Linked DNA regions of Homo sapiens: region 2 is linked to region 1. Evidence: promoter capture Hi-C in human tissues and cell types (Jung and others, 2019). All regions are on one chromosome and are shown on one strand. Each heading gives the region's core, a stretch centred on a gene start or on the middle of the fragment in contact. The rest is flanking DNA. Distances are from core to core; before and after follow the strand shown.

Region 1 (6,878 bases), core at 2,820-5,319:
AACACAGACACTTTAAAAGTGACTTCGCCGTGTGTAATGAGTCTAGCTCCATTCTGACATTGACGGCTAACGGCATTGAGACCTCCACCCATTCCTTCCCCAATCCCCACACATTTACTTTAAATAAAGAATCCCTTGGCCTCCAGAGCCTTTTACACACAATCTCTTTGAACCCCACATCCCTAGCATGGATGCAAGGACGCTTATCAGACTAACCACAGCTGTGAGATATGTTCAATTAAACTCTGAAGTGTACATTTCACACTACAGGAAAATTTATTTTAAATAGGTTACAGATTGTGTTCGCAGAGAACTTTGAAATGTAAACGACTATGATATACCTAAGGTAATTGAATCCCTATTTTCACTGATACAAAAATGAACAATAAAAAGTGATGTAAATTAAGGTATATCTGGAAACTCTTAGTATGCTTAACAGATTAATCAAAAATCTGAAGTCATATTTATTTGAAAAGCTATATCAGAATAAAACACACTACACAATGCATCCCTTTTAAGTGTACAATTCAGTAAAGTATATTCAAAGATGCAAACAGATAATCACCACAGTCAATTATAGAACATTTTCTTTTTTTTTTTTTTTTGAGATGGAGTCTCACTCTGTTGCCCAGGCTGGAGTGCAGAATGCAATGGCGCGATCTCGGGTCACTACAGCCTCCGATTCTGGTGTTCAAGCGATTCTTCTGCCTCAGCCTCCAGAGTAGCTGGGATTATAGGCGCGCGCCACTGTGCTTGGCTGATTTTTGTATTTCTAGTGGAGACGGGGTTTCACCATGTTGGCCAGGCTGGTCTTGAACTCCTGACCTCAAGTGATCCACCTGCCTCAGTCTCCCAAACTGCTGGGATTACAGGCATGAGCCACGGCACCTGGCCTAGAACATTTTCTTTTTTTCTTGTTTGAGACGGAATCTCGCTCTGTCGCCCAGGCTGGAGTGCAGTGGCGCCATCTCGGCTCACTGCAAGCTCCGCCTCCCGGGTTCACACCACTCTCCTGCCTCAGCTTCCCGAGTAGCTGGGACTACAGGGCCTGCCACCACGCCCAGCTAATTTTTTGTATTTTTTAGTAGAGACGGGTTTCACCGTGTTAGCCAGGATGGTCTCGATCTCCTGACCTCGTGATCCGCCCGCCTCAGCCTCCCAAAGTGCTAGGATTACAGGCATGAGCCACCGCGCCAGGCCTAGAACATTTTCATTACCTCAAAAAAGAAACTCCTGGCAGGGCACGGTGGCTCATGCCTGTAATCCCAGCATTTTGGAAGGCCAAGGCAGGAGGATAGCTTGAGCCCAAAAGTTCATGACCAGCCCTGACAAAAGAGCAAAACCCCATCTCTAAAAGAAAAAGAAAAATTAATTGGGCATGGTGGTGCACACCTGTGTTCTCAGCTACTCAGGAGGCTGAGATGGGAGGATTTCTTGAATCCAGAAGTTTGAGAGTGCAGTGAGCCTTGACAGCCTGGGCTACAGAGCAAAACCCCATCTCTTAAAAAAGAAAAATTTAAAAAACAAACAAAAAAGCAAAGCGGCTGCTCTATTTTCCATTCTCACCAGCAGTGTATGAGGGTTCCAAGTTCTCCATATCCTTGACATGTGTTATTATCTCACTTTTTCATTCTACCCATCCTAGTGGGTTTGAAGTGGTATTTCCTTGCCTTTTTGTTTAGCATTTACTTAATGATGTCCAGCATCTTTTCAGGTCCCCTTGCTCAGTTGTTTATCTTCCTTAGAAAAATGTATATTCAGCTGGGTGCTGTGGCTCACACCTGTAATCCCAGCACTTTGGAAGGCCGAGGTGGGCCGATCACTTCAGCCTAGGAGTTTGAGACCAGCGTGGCCAACATGGCAAAACCCGTCTCGACTCAAAATACAAAAATTAGCCAGGTGTCGTGGCACATACCTGTAATCCAAGCTACTCCAGAGCAAGACCATGTCCCCTCCGCCTCCAGAAAAAAAGCTGTAAAACAGGCTCTGGCAGATCATTCAGGAAGTATTCTGAAAGGTTTTTGTCTTTTTGTTTTCTGGGTTTTTTTTGAGACGAAGTCTGGCACTGTCGCTGGAGGCTGCGGCAGGAGAATCACTTATACCAGAGAAGTGGAGGTTGCAGTGAGCCAAGATCGCATCACTGAACTCCAGCCTGGGCAACAGAGCAAGACTCTGTCTCACAAAAGAAAAAAAAAAAAGAATTACTAGGGCCGGGCGCGGTTGCTCATGCCTGTAATCCCAGCACTTTGGGAGGCCGAGGCCAGTGGATCACGAGGTCAGGAGATCGAGACCATCCTGGCTAACACGGTGAAACCCCGTCTACTAAAAATACAAAAAATTAGCCGGGCGTAGTGGTGGGTGCCTGTAGTCCCTGCTACTCGGGAGGCTGAGGCAGGAGAATGGCGTGAACCCGGGAGGCGGAGCTTGCAGTGAGCTGAGATTGCGCCACTGCACTCCAGCCTGGGTGACAGAGCAAGACTCCGTCTCAAAAATAAAAAGAATTACCAAGGGTAGAATTAAGTTCACCTCTTCACTATATCAAATACAGAGAAATTTTTTGCTTCCTTAAATAGGAATCAAGCAACCAAAAAGCAGCATAAGTTCTGCAATAAATTCTTTTAAATACCCTCTTATTGATACACCTTACAGTCATTACTGGTTTGTGGTGGTATTTATTATTTTTTTATTTTTTGAGAGAGTCTCACTCTGTTGCCCAGGCTGGAGTGCAGTGGCGTGCTTGGCTCACTGCAACCTCCACTCCCAAGTAGCTGGGATTACAGATGTGCACCACCACACCAGGCTAATTTTTGTATTTTTAGTAGAGACAGGGTGTTGCTATGTTGTCCAGGCTGGTCTCCAATTCCTGGCCTCAAGTGATCTGCCCGCATTGGCCTCCCAAAATGCTGGGATTACAGGGTGAGCCACCGCGCCCGGCCTGTGGTAGTATTTATTACCACAATTTATTACACCCTGCTTGACAACAGGGACGTCCCTGATAGTCCTTGGAAAGAAATCACTCACAACATGATTTGACTTTTGGTATTATGCATATGAAAAACTACTATCATCATAAAAGTTGTAATCAAATAAGCATGAAAACTAAAATTTATGAGGAAAAAAAGGCCTGAAGTTGTAAGCTCACAGTAATATTGACTCACAATGTTGGACAAATAGCTTAATTATAAAGTTTATCGGATCCATGATTGGAATGGGATATTTTAATATATATTCTCAATAAATACAAAACTCACCAGACAGTATGCAAGTTGCTTGCATACTGTTAATATTTCTAAGAAATGTGTAGAGAACTTTTGTTTGAGGAGGACATGTATATTGTTTGTAATCATATGTACTCAAACATAATTCAAAATAAACTGAGGGACTGCATTCAGCTATGAGTAACAGGAAACACCCACAATGTTTCTATAATGAATAAGGTGCTTATTCTCACATGAAAGAACGGGGTGAGACCCATCTCTGCATAATGCAGCAGAGGAACAAGCTCCATGTAGGGTTTTTCGTTTTGTTTTTGGATAGTGCCATTGTAGCTCTCAACCTGCATCAGTAACACTCACTGTCCCTATGGACAAAAATGTTTATGTACAAACTGGACCGTACAGGAACCAAGTCAGATCATCAGACTATTCCCAACAATGACAATATGAACTGATTACTTGGCAGATATATTAGGGCCTTCAGGAATATCCAAATGGCAGCTGAATCTTTGATATGAAGCTTTTAAAAACATCTATGGAAATCCATAACTTTGAGAACATGGAGGTGAAGTAGCTAGTGGTGGATTAGAGGATACTCTTTTTTTTTTTTTTTTTTTTTTTTTTGAGACAGGGTCTTACTCTGTACTCTGTCACCCAGGCTGGAGTGCAGTGGCATGATCTTGGCTCACTGCAACCTTCACCTCCCTGGCTCAAGCGATTCTCCTGCCTCAGCTGGGACTATAAGCACGCGACACCACACCCAGCTAATTTTTGTATTTTTAGTAGAGATGGGGTTTCACCATGTTGACCACGCTGGTCTCGAACTCCTCACCTCAGGTGATCCGACCGCCTTGGCCTCCCAAAGTGCTAGAATTACAGGTGTGAGCCAGCACACCCGGCTGAGGATACTCTTGATTGGCAGGGCAAAGAATCAGGAAAATGGGCTAGATGACCATGTCCAAACAGCCCATATGCATCTGTCTCTCCGTATGATGCCTCCAAAATCTGACTAATGCGTTCTTCACTTCTGCATTCTAAACTTCCAGGAATTTAGGCTATTGATGCAGTCTACAGGTAACCATGAAAGAAAGAAATTCTGGGCCAGGCACAGTGGCTTATGCCTGTAATCCTAGTGCTTTAAGAGGCTGAGGCTAGAGGGTGACTTGAGGCCAGGAGTTTGAGACCAGTCTGGGCAACATAGCAAGACACCATCTCTACAAAAAAAAAAAAAGATGAAAAACCAAAAATAAAAAGATTAGCTGGGCTTGGTGGCACATACCTATAGTTCCAGCCATTTGGGAGGCTGAGGTCGGAAGGCCACCTGAGCTCCAGAGTTTGAGGTTACAGTGAGCCACAGTCGTGCCACTGCACTCCAGCCTGAGTGACAGAGTGAGACCCTATTTCAGAAAGAAAGAAAGAAATGAAGTCTGAAAAGTTTAGTTCCCATTACCCAGATTGACATGACACAATCCATGAAAGGCATCTCCCATTTTAGATTTTATTATTCTATCATAGCTGTCTCCTTATCCCAAAATCAATTATACAAAGAGCAGCCAGAATAAATAACAAGGAGTAAAGAACAACAGGTTAAAATAATAATTCACGAGACTACAGTCTGTGATAAACTTTACATACTTAGAATTAACAACAACTCTTTAATAGGAAGCAAAATAAAATTATTTGAGCCAAGAAAAAAAAAATGGGCTAGGTGTGATGGCTCACACGTGTAATCCCAGACTTTAGGAGGCTGAGGTGGGTGGATCACTTGAGGTCAGGAGTTCTACCAGCCTGGCCAACATGGTGAAACCCCATCTCTACTAGAAATACAAAAAATTAGCCAGGTGTGGTGGCACATGCCTGTAGTCCCAGCTTCCTAGGAGGCTAAGGTGGGAGAATCACTTGAACCCAGAAGGCAGAGGTTGCAATGAGCCGAGATCATGCCACTGTACTCCAGCTTGGGCAACAGAGCACAGAGCGAGACCCTGTCTCAAAAAGAAAAAAGAAGAAAGAAAAAAGAAAAAAGGAAAAAAAAGGAGCTGTTCCAATAAATATGATGGAATGTATATAATGTGGAAAGGGAATCAAGAACCTGCTAAATGAAGCAAGTAGGTTCATACCAACATTTATTAAGACTTATTTTTCAGTGGTCCTCAATCACAGAACAATTAAGCAACCATATACAATTTAACATACCTGAATATGAGAAACACATTTAAATTCATTGTTGGATTAAACACATTTCAAAATGGAAAGACAAATATTTTATTTACTGACCTAAAACAACACTACCTATGAAATTCATGCACTATTGCTTTCAGATTACTTACAGGATTATATCAATTTAACATTTCTTTGTGAGATTAAGCATTTGAAATCCATAGTCAGAGAACTATTTTAAATATGAGCCACTAATTAACAAAATATACATATAGCTTCTACATTTCCATCAGGTTATGTATTTTCTAGAGACTACATGACCCGCTATGCATGAGGCTTTTTGAAGTACTTACATTTATAGGATTTTGCTGTATTAGAAGTTTTCAAATGACTTTTTTTTTTTTTCTGAGATGAGGTCTTGCTATGTTTTGCACACTGGTCTCAAACTCCTGACCTCAAGTGATCCTCCTGCCTCAGCCTCCCAAAGTGCTGGGATTACAGGTGTGAGCCACCACACCCAGCCAGAGCCAAAACATCTGTTCAAATTCAATACCTCAACTAGTGAGGCCCTGCTGGGATTGAAATCCAGCATCTCCTGTTTGCCAGACAAGTACTTTAACCCACAAAGCCACAGAGCCAGAGCCCTCAAATGACTTTAAAAGTATAATGGAAAACCTTCCTTGTAGTTTTCACATTTATAGTGTTTTGATCCAGGGTACATTCTTACATGTTGTTGAAAGCATGTGGGCTGGCTAAAAACGTGTGGACATTGCTTATATTCAAGAGCTTTCTCTTTTGTGTGTTCTTTCATGGCTTCAAGTGGAACTAAAATGACTAAAGGCTCTCCCACACTCTTTACATTTACCAAGGTTCTCTCCACTACACATTCATGTGTGACAGGGTTGTGTGATGACAAAACCTTTCCTACACCCTTTACCCAGGGTTTCTCTCAAATATGGGTTCCTTTCCAAAAAGCATTTGTTTGGTTTTCTCCATGATGAGTTCTTTCATGTATTTGAAAGGAACTAAAATGATTGAAAGCTTTCCCATGTTACTTACATGTATATGGCTTCTCTCTAGAATTCTTTCATGTATTAAAAAAGGCACTGACAGAATTTCATGCTTTCCCACGTTACTTACATTCATAGGGCTTCTCTTCAGTGAGTATTTTAATGTATCTGACATGAACCCAGAGCATTAAAGGCTTTCCCACATGCATTTATAAGGTGGTCCATCTTCAGCATGTGTTAACATGTGTCTCTGAAAGCTGGCACGGCAAGAATAGGCTTTCCCACATTCCTTGCAATGATAGGGTTTCTGTCCAGTGTGAGTCCTTTCATGTAGTCGAAAGGAACTAGAAGATCTAAAGGCTTTACCACATCGCTTACATTCAAAGGGTTTCTCACCAGTGTGAATCATTTCATGTGTTCGAAAGGAGTTGAGATAACTGAAGGCTTTCCCACATTGCTTACACTCATAGGGTTTCTCTCCAGTATGAGTTCTTTC
Region 2 (6,878 bases), core at 1,198-3,697, 140 kb after region 1:
TAATCCACCCCTTGTTTAGCACATAATCAAGAAATAACTATAAGTATACATTGTCAGGCAGACCATGCTGCTGCTCTGTCTATGGAGTAGCCATTCTTTTGTTTCTTTACTTCTGTAATAAACTTGCTTTTACTTTATGGACTCACCCTGAATTTGTTCTTACATGAGGTCCAAGAACTCTCTTTTGGGGTCTGGATTGGTACCCCTTTCTGGTAATAAGATTAAACTGACTCCAGGTGAGAGTTTCCCGCTAATGAAAATGAAGGTGTGGAGAGGAGGGGGAGTTTCCACACTGTGAGGAGAAGATGGGTGTATGTGAGGAAACCTTGGCCATGCCTCATCCCGATTCTTGCCCCACTGCAGGAGATCTGTCTCTCCCTCCTGGAGCAGTCATACATGGCCTTGTTCCCCTCCTGCCCTGAGACAAGGGGATGGCTTTGTGGGGGTGATAGACTCTTCGTGTCCTAAAGGTTTGCTGAAAACTAATTGATCTGAGGCAGATTGATTAATAGAAAAGAAGGCATGCAAATGTATTTAACATGTATACATGGGAACCTTCAGAATGAAGACACACCCAGCTATAAGACAGAGAAGATTATATAGCGACCTGAGGTCAGTAAATTAGGTTTAGTAGCAAGACAGCTTAGTAGACTGAGAAAGGAAGAGGCTTGGCTAGAGGTGGACTGTTACGTAGATGATGTCTCCCCCAGAGAATAGACTTTTTTCCTTTTTATGAGACAAGGTCTCACTCTGTCACCTAGGCTCGAGTGTAATGGTGCAATCTCTGCTCACTACAACCTCCGTCTTCTGGGTTCAAGCAATTGTCCTGCTTCAGCCCCCCGAATAGCTGGGATCACAGGTGTGTGCCACCAAACCCAGCTCATTTTTATATTTTTGGTAGAGATGGGATTTCGTCAAGTTGGCCAGGCTGGTCTCAAACTCCTGACCTCAAGTGATCCACCCACCTCGGCCTCCCAAAGTGCTGGGATTACAGGCATGAGCCACCATGCCTGGCCCTAATCTATTTACTTATCTTTTTGGTAGAGACCTGGTCTCACTGCGCCCGGCCACTGGTTTTTTGTTTTGTTTTGTTTTGTTTTTTTGAGACACAGTCTTGCTCTGTGGCCCAGGCTGGAGTACAGTGGTGCGATCTCTGCTCACTACAAGCTCCACCTCCCGTGTTCTCGCCATTCTCCTGCCTCAGCCTCCCGAGTAGCTGGGACTACAGGCGCCCACCACCACGCCCGGCTAATTTTTTTTTTGTATTTTTAGTAGAGACGGGGTTTCACCGTATTAGCCAGGATGGTCTCGATCTCCTGACCTCGTGATCCGCCCACCTCGGTCTCCCAAAGTGCTGGGATTACAGGCGTGAGCCACTGCGCCCGGCCAGCGCCCGGCCATTTAAAAAAATTTTAAATAATAAAGACAGGGATCGGCGGGCGAGGTGGCTCACGCCTGTAATCCCAGCACTTTAGGAGGCCGAGGCGGGCGGATCACCTGAGGTCGTGAGTTCGAGACCAGCCTGACCAACATGGAGAAACCCCGTCTCTACTAAAAATACAAAATTAGCGGGGCGTGGTGGCGCATGTCTGTAATCCCAGCTATTTGGGAGGCTGGGGCAGGAGAATCGCTTGAACCTGGGAGGCGGAGGTTGCAGTGAGCCAAGATCTCGTGCCACTGTGCTCCAGCCTGGGCGACAGATCGAGACTGTCTAAAAAAAAAAAAAAAAAAGAAAGAAAGACAGGGATCTCGCTGTGTTGATGATGTTGGCCTCAAACTCCTTGCTTCAAGGGATCCTTCCGCCTCAGTTTGCCAATGTGGTGGGATTATAGACATGAGTCACCATGTGCTACCTCTCTTCAGATTTTAAAGGTGTCAAACTCTCAATAGCTTTTAGATCAGGGAAAGGAAAAGAACGGGGGAGCTGGCAGTGCTTCATTAACGGAGATTCTCTACAAATGTAAATTTCCCCCTCAAAAGACAGTTTTGCAAGGCCACCTTTTGTTTGCTGGCCAAGCAGCAGCCATTTCAAAACTGTCAAAGAAATATATTTTGGCAGGGCAATATCTTGGGGCAAAATATTTTAATGTCTTTCACATTTTGTGGACACTGAATCTGGAATTCCCTGCACACTTGTGTCCCGTGTAGGATGAAGGGGCAGGGACGGCCCACGGAGTGAGGAAGACAACAGTGTCCCTTCTAGCAGTTCGGAGCAAGTTTGGCCGAAGGCAAATATTCGAAGTAAAGGTGGGAGGGAGGGAGGGAGCTGACCTTGGAAAGTGTGGCCAGAACCAGTCGCTTCGGCTCTGCAGCGCCCAGTTACCCGGGGCTTCTGCTGTCACTCAGGGAAGGGGGCGGAGTCTAGACCCCTATCCAATCAGGGGCGCTAGGGCGGGGCCCTGCCACTGTCCTCCAGGGAAGGGGAGGTTGCATTCCCGCTCTCTTCACTCCTAGGGCTGCTCGCGCTAGTTAAGGTCTGGGGCTTTCTTGCTCCGAGAGGGACCAGTTACTTCCGCCGTAGCTGCTGTTGCTCTGTCGACTGCGCTGTGACCTGCACTGTTCACGGGACCTTTAGAGAGGACGCCAGAATACCTGGAAGCCAGGAAATGGTGAGCATGCGGTGCTGGGGAGTCCCAAGGCGAAAGGAGGGACTGGGTGGAACCGAGAGGAACCCGCTGTGGCGGGGCCCGGGCCCCCCTGCAGCGACTCTGGGCTCCAGACACAGTCCCCCTAGCGCAGCTCGGCCCTCGGTCCCCTCGGCCGCTGGGTGGAGCTGGGCCGGCAGCCGGGACCCCGGGCGTCCTGTCCGGTCCCTGCGCGGCGACTGCGGCCCCGGCCCCGGCTCCCTCTCTGAGCAGCTCCGCGCCCGCAGCCCCGCGTCTCCCCAGATTGTGCGGTGACCATGGAAGGGTCATGGGGGATCCTGCCTCGGGTGTGGGGTTCGTGTGGGAGGAGCTGTGGGCTGTGGGGTCCCCAGTTCCTTTTTTTTTCCAGTTAAAAATTAAACTGAGGCACTGTTAAAAAATGAGAGTTTATTTTAGCAAACAGCGATTAATGAATGAGAAACTCCCAGTCCTGGCTTGTGGTTTGGTAACGGAAAAACCCAAATCGTGTAGAATAAGTTTATTCTGAGCCGAATAGGAGAGACCTCGGCTGAGGGAAACACAACCCCGCGAAGTCTGGAGTAAGCAATCCCGAGGCAGCTCCTGACAGTTTGGTTTTATTCATTTCAGGGAGACAGGAATTGCAGGAAAATGATGAATCAGTGCCGGGAAGGTGTAAGTTCCTTTGGCCGAAAGGCGGGACACATGGAAGCGGGGTTAGAAGGCACAGGTGGTGGAGGGATTCTGTAGGTGGCAGTTGGTTGAGAGTGTGTAAAGCTTTGTCTAAAATTTGGAGGCTGTAGGAAGGAGGGCTGTTATCTGCCACGTTATTCCATCCCAGTCCCCGCCCCCTTCCCCAAAAGACCTGTTTTTATTTTACCAGATTTTTATATTTTTGAGACGGAGTCTCGCTCCGTCGCCCCAGGCTGAAGTGCTGTGGCGCCATCTCGGCTCACTGCAACCTCCGCCTCCCGGGTTCAAGCGATTCTCTTGCCTCAGCCTCCCGAGTAGCTGGGACTACAGGCGCCAGCCACCACGCCCGGCTAATTTTTGTATTTTTAGTAGAAACGGGTTTCACCATATTGGCCAGGCTGGTCTTGAACTCCTCCTGACTTTGTGATCCGCCCACTTCGGCCTCCCAAGGTACTGGGATTACAGGCGTGAGCCACTGCGCCCGGCCAATTTTTGTATTTTTAGTAGAGACGGGGTTTCATGATATTGGCCAGGCTGGTCTCGAACTCCTGACCTCGTGATCCACCCTCCTCGGCCTCCCAAAGTGCTGGGATTACAGTGGAATGCCCCACTGCACTCCAGCCATGGTGAAAGAATGAGACTGTCTCAAAAAAAAAAAGTTAAGCTCCTTCTTATATAGGCAAAAAACAAAGAAATTTAATTATCGCAACAATTAGTACAACTAAATTAATTGTACAATTAATTTAATACAACTAATTAGTACAACTAAATTAATTATACAATTTAGTTACAGGTTTTTTTGTTTGTTTGTTTGAGACGGAGTTTCGCTCTTGTTGCCGAGACTGGAGTGCAATGGCGCAATCTCGGCTCACTGCAACCTCCGCCTCCCCGGTTCAAGCGATTCTCCTGTATCAGATTACAGGCGTGAGCCACCGCGCCCGGCCCAGGACTTTAAAATTTTCTTTGCAAGGGGTTTTAATTTCTTTTCTTTTCTTTTTTTTTTTTTTTTTTTTTTTGAGACGGAGTCTCACTCTGTCACCCAGGCTGGAGTGCAGTGGCGCGATCTCTGCTCACTGCAAGCTCCGCCTCCCGGGTTCACGCCATTGTCCTGCCTCAGCCTCCCAAGTAGCTGGGACTACAGGCGCCCGCCACCGCGCCCGGCTAATTTTTTTGTATTTTTTAGTAGAGACGGGGTTTCACCGTGTTAGCCAGGATGGTCTCGATCTCCTGACCTCGTGATCCACCCACCTCGGCCTTCCAAAGTGCTGGGATTACAGGCGTGAGCCACCGCGCGCGGCCGGTTTTCATTTCTTTTCTTATTTAAAAAAGTGAATTTAACATTTCCAGCTTCAGAAGATGTGATGGCCATGAAGTCTTTGTGTAAGAAAAGTAAGAGGGAAGTTAGTCTATAATGAAATCAATCCTTAAGAGGGAAGGGGTCTTTCCTGACTTGCTTGTCATTTAAAATATTTTACAAAACAATATAGGTAAGAAAGAAAGCTAATCTGTAATCAGGGAATGGAAGGTTCCCTGGCTGGCTCTGTTACCGCTGCCTGTGAGGTGTCTCAACCCCAGAATGGCATTCCTTTAAACCTCAAGATAATTTAGAGTTCCAGCAGCTTAAATTTTTGAATCACCTATTTTCACATTCTGTACAGGTGAAACTTTTGGTTATGTAATCAGAGATTAATTGACCTATTGTGCCTGGTTAAGCCTAAATTTCATTTCCCTATAAATTAGTCATTAGTGATATTGTTTCCTCAGGCCACAGATTAGAAATTTATGTGAATTGGATTTGAATTTGGCTTCAGTATGCTTGTGAAGGGTCTTAGTGTTCTATAGCCAGTTCAGTTTAATTGCTTCTTATTTATTTATTTATTTACTTTTGAGACGGAGTCTCTTTCTGTCGCCCAGGCTGGAGTGCACTGGCATAATCTTGGCTCACTGCAAACTCCACCTCCCGGGTTCAATCGATTCTCCTGCTTCAGCCTCCCAAGTAGCTGGGACTACAGGTGCATGCCACCATACCTGGCTAATTTTTGTATTTTTAGTAGAGACAGGGTTTCACCATGTTGGCCAGGCTGGTCTCAAACTCCTGATCTCAGGTGATCTGCCTGCTTTGGCCTCCCACAGTGCTGGGATTACAGGCATGAGCCACCGCACCCGGCCAAAATTGGATGTTTTAAAATTGGATGCCATGTCAGTAAGAATATACTTGGGAACACCACCCAGGAAAATGAATAGTCCTTGGGCAGTTCTGGTGTGTTTCTTTGATGTCATCTAACTATGGCACACAAAGGTGGTCAAAATTTTGATTCTTTTGGTTATTCTTTTTTTTTTTGAGATGGAGTTTCGCTCTTGTTGCCCAAGCTGGAGTACAATGGCGTGAGTTCAGCTCACTGCAACCTCCACCTCCCAGGTTCAAGTGATTCTCCTGCCTCAGCCTCCCGAGTAGCTGGGATTACAGGCATGCGCCACCACACCTGGCTAATTTTTGTATTTTTAGTAGAGATGGGGTTTCACTAGGTTGGCCAAGCTGGTCTTGAACTCCTGACCTCATGCTCCACCCGCCTTGGCTTCCCAAAGTGTTGGGATTACAGGTGTGAGCCACTGTGCCCGGCCTGTTATTCTTTTTTTTTTTTTTTTTTTTTGAGAGGGAGTCTCGCTCTGTCGCTCAGGCTGGAGTGCAGTGACACCATCTCTGCTCACTACAACTTCTATCTCCTGGGTCCAAGCGATTCTCCTTCCTCAGCCTCCCAAGTAGCTGGGATTACAGGCACCTGCCACCACACCTGGCTAATTTTTGTATTTTTAGTAGAGATGGGGTTTCACCACTTTGGCTGAGCTGGTCTTGAACTCCTGACCTCAGGTGATCCACCTCCCAAAGTGCTGGAATTACAGACATGAGCCACCGCACCCAGCCTTCTTTTTGTTATTCTTTGTAGCTGTATTATCTTTTTTTTTTTTTTTTTGAGACGGAGCTGCCTCTCGCCCAGGCTGGAGTGCAGTGGCGTGATCTCGGCTCACTGCAACATCTGCCTCCTGGGTTCAAGCGATTCTCCTGCCTTAGCTTCCCGAGTAGCTGGGACTACAGGTGCATACCACCACACCCAGCTAATTTTTATATTTTTAGTAGAGATGGAGTTTCACTATATTGGCCAGGCTGGTCTCAAACTCCTGACTTTGTGATCTGCCCACCTCAGTTTCCCAAAGTGCTGAGGCACCGCGCCCAGCCTTTCTTTCTTTTCTTTTCTTTTTCTTTTCTTTTTTTTTTTTTTTGAGACAGAGTCTTGCTCTGTTGCCCAAGCTGGAGTGCAATGCACGATCTTGGCTCATTGTAATCTCTACCTCCTAGGTTCAAGTGATTCTGCTGCCTCGGCCCCCCAAGTAGCTGGGATTACAAGCGCCTGCCACCATGCCCAGCTGATATTCGTATTTTTAGTAGAGACGTGGTTTCACCTGGTTGGCCAGGCTGGTCTCGAACTCCTGAGCTCAGGTGATCCATCTGTGCCTGCCTCCTAAAGTGCTGGGATTACAGGTGTGAGCCACTGTGCCAGGCCTGCCATATTTTTTCTTTTTTTT

What was found. The method cuts DNA at HindIII sites, captures the fragments that hold promoters and counts their contacts. A contact is called where the count stands out against the background at its distance.
Region 2: the fragment with the promoter of ZNF878 here is called in contact with a fragment that was not itself captured in region 1 in 3 of the 25 tissues and cell types used here (adrenal gland, lymphoblastoid cells and mesenchymal stem cells).

The regions. Positions count from the first base shown.
Region 1 is chr19:12,187,693-12,194,570 of GRCh38, reverse strand. ZNF136 (zinc finger protein 136) reads right to left here. Exons shown (of 4, transcript NM_003437.5): 4 at 4,700-6,878. The coding sequence ends at 6,570. Among named protein-coding and RNA genes, the nearest start is that of ZNF136, 28 kb to the right of the region's middle. The HindIII fragment of the contact is 7,748 bases long and covers 196-6,878 here.
Region 2 is chr19:12,048,530-12,055,407 of GRCh38, reverse strand. It overlaps ZNF878 (zinc finger protein 878), which reads left to right and starts at 2,447. Exons shown (of 4, transcript NM_001080404.3): 1 at 2,447-2,609. The coding sequence starts at 2,607. RefSeq lists an enhancer at 2,108-2,613 and a silencer at 2,802-2,851. The HindIII fragment of the contact is 7,236 bases long and covers 1-6,271 here.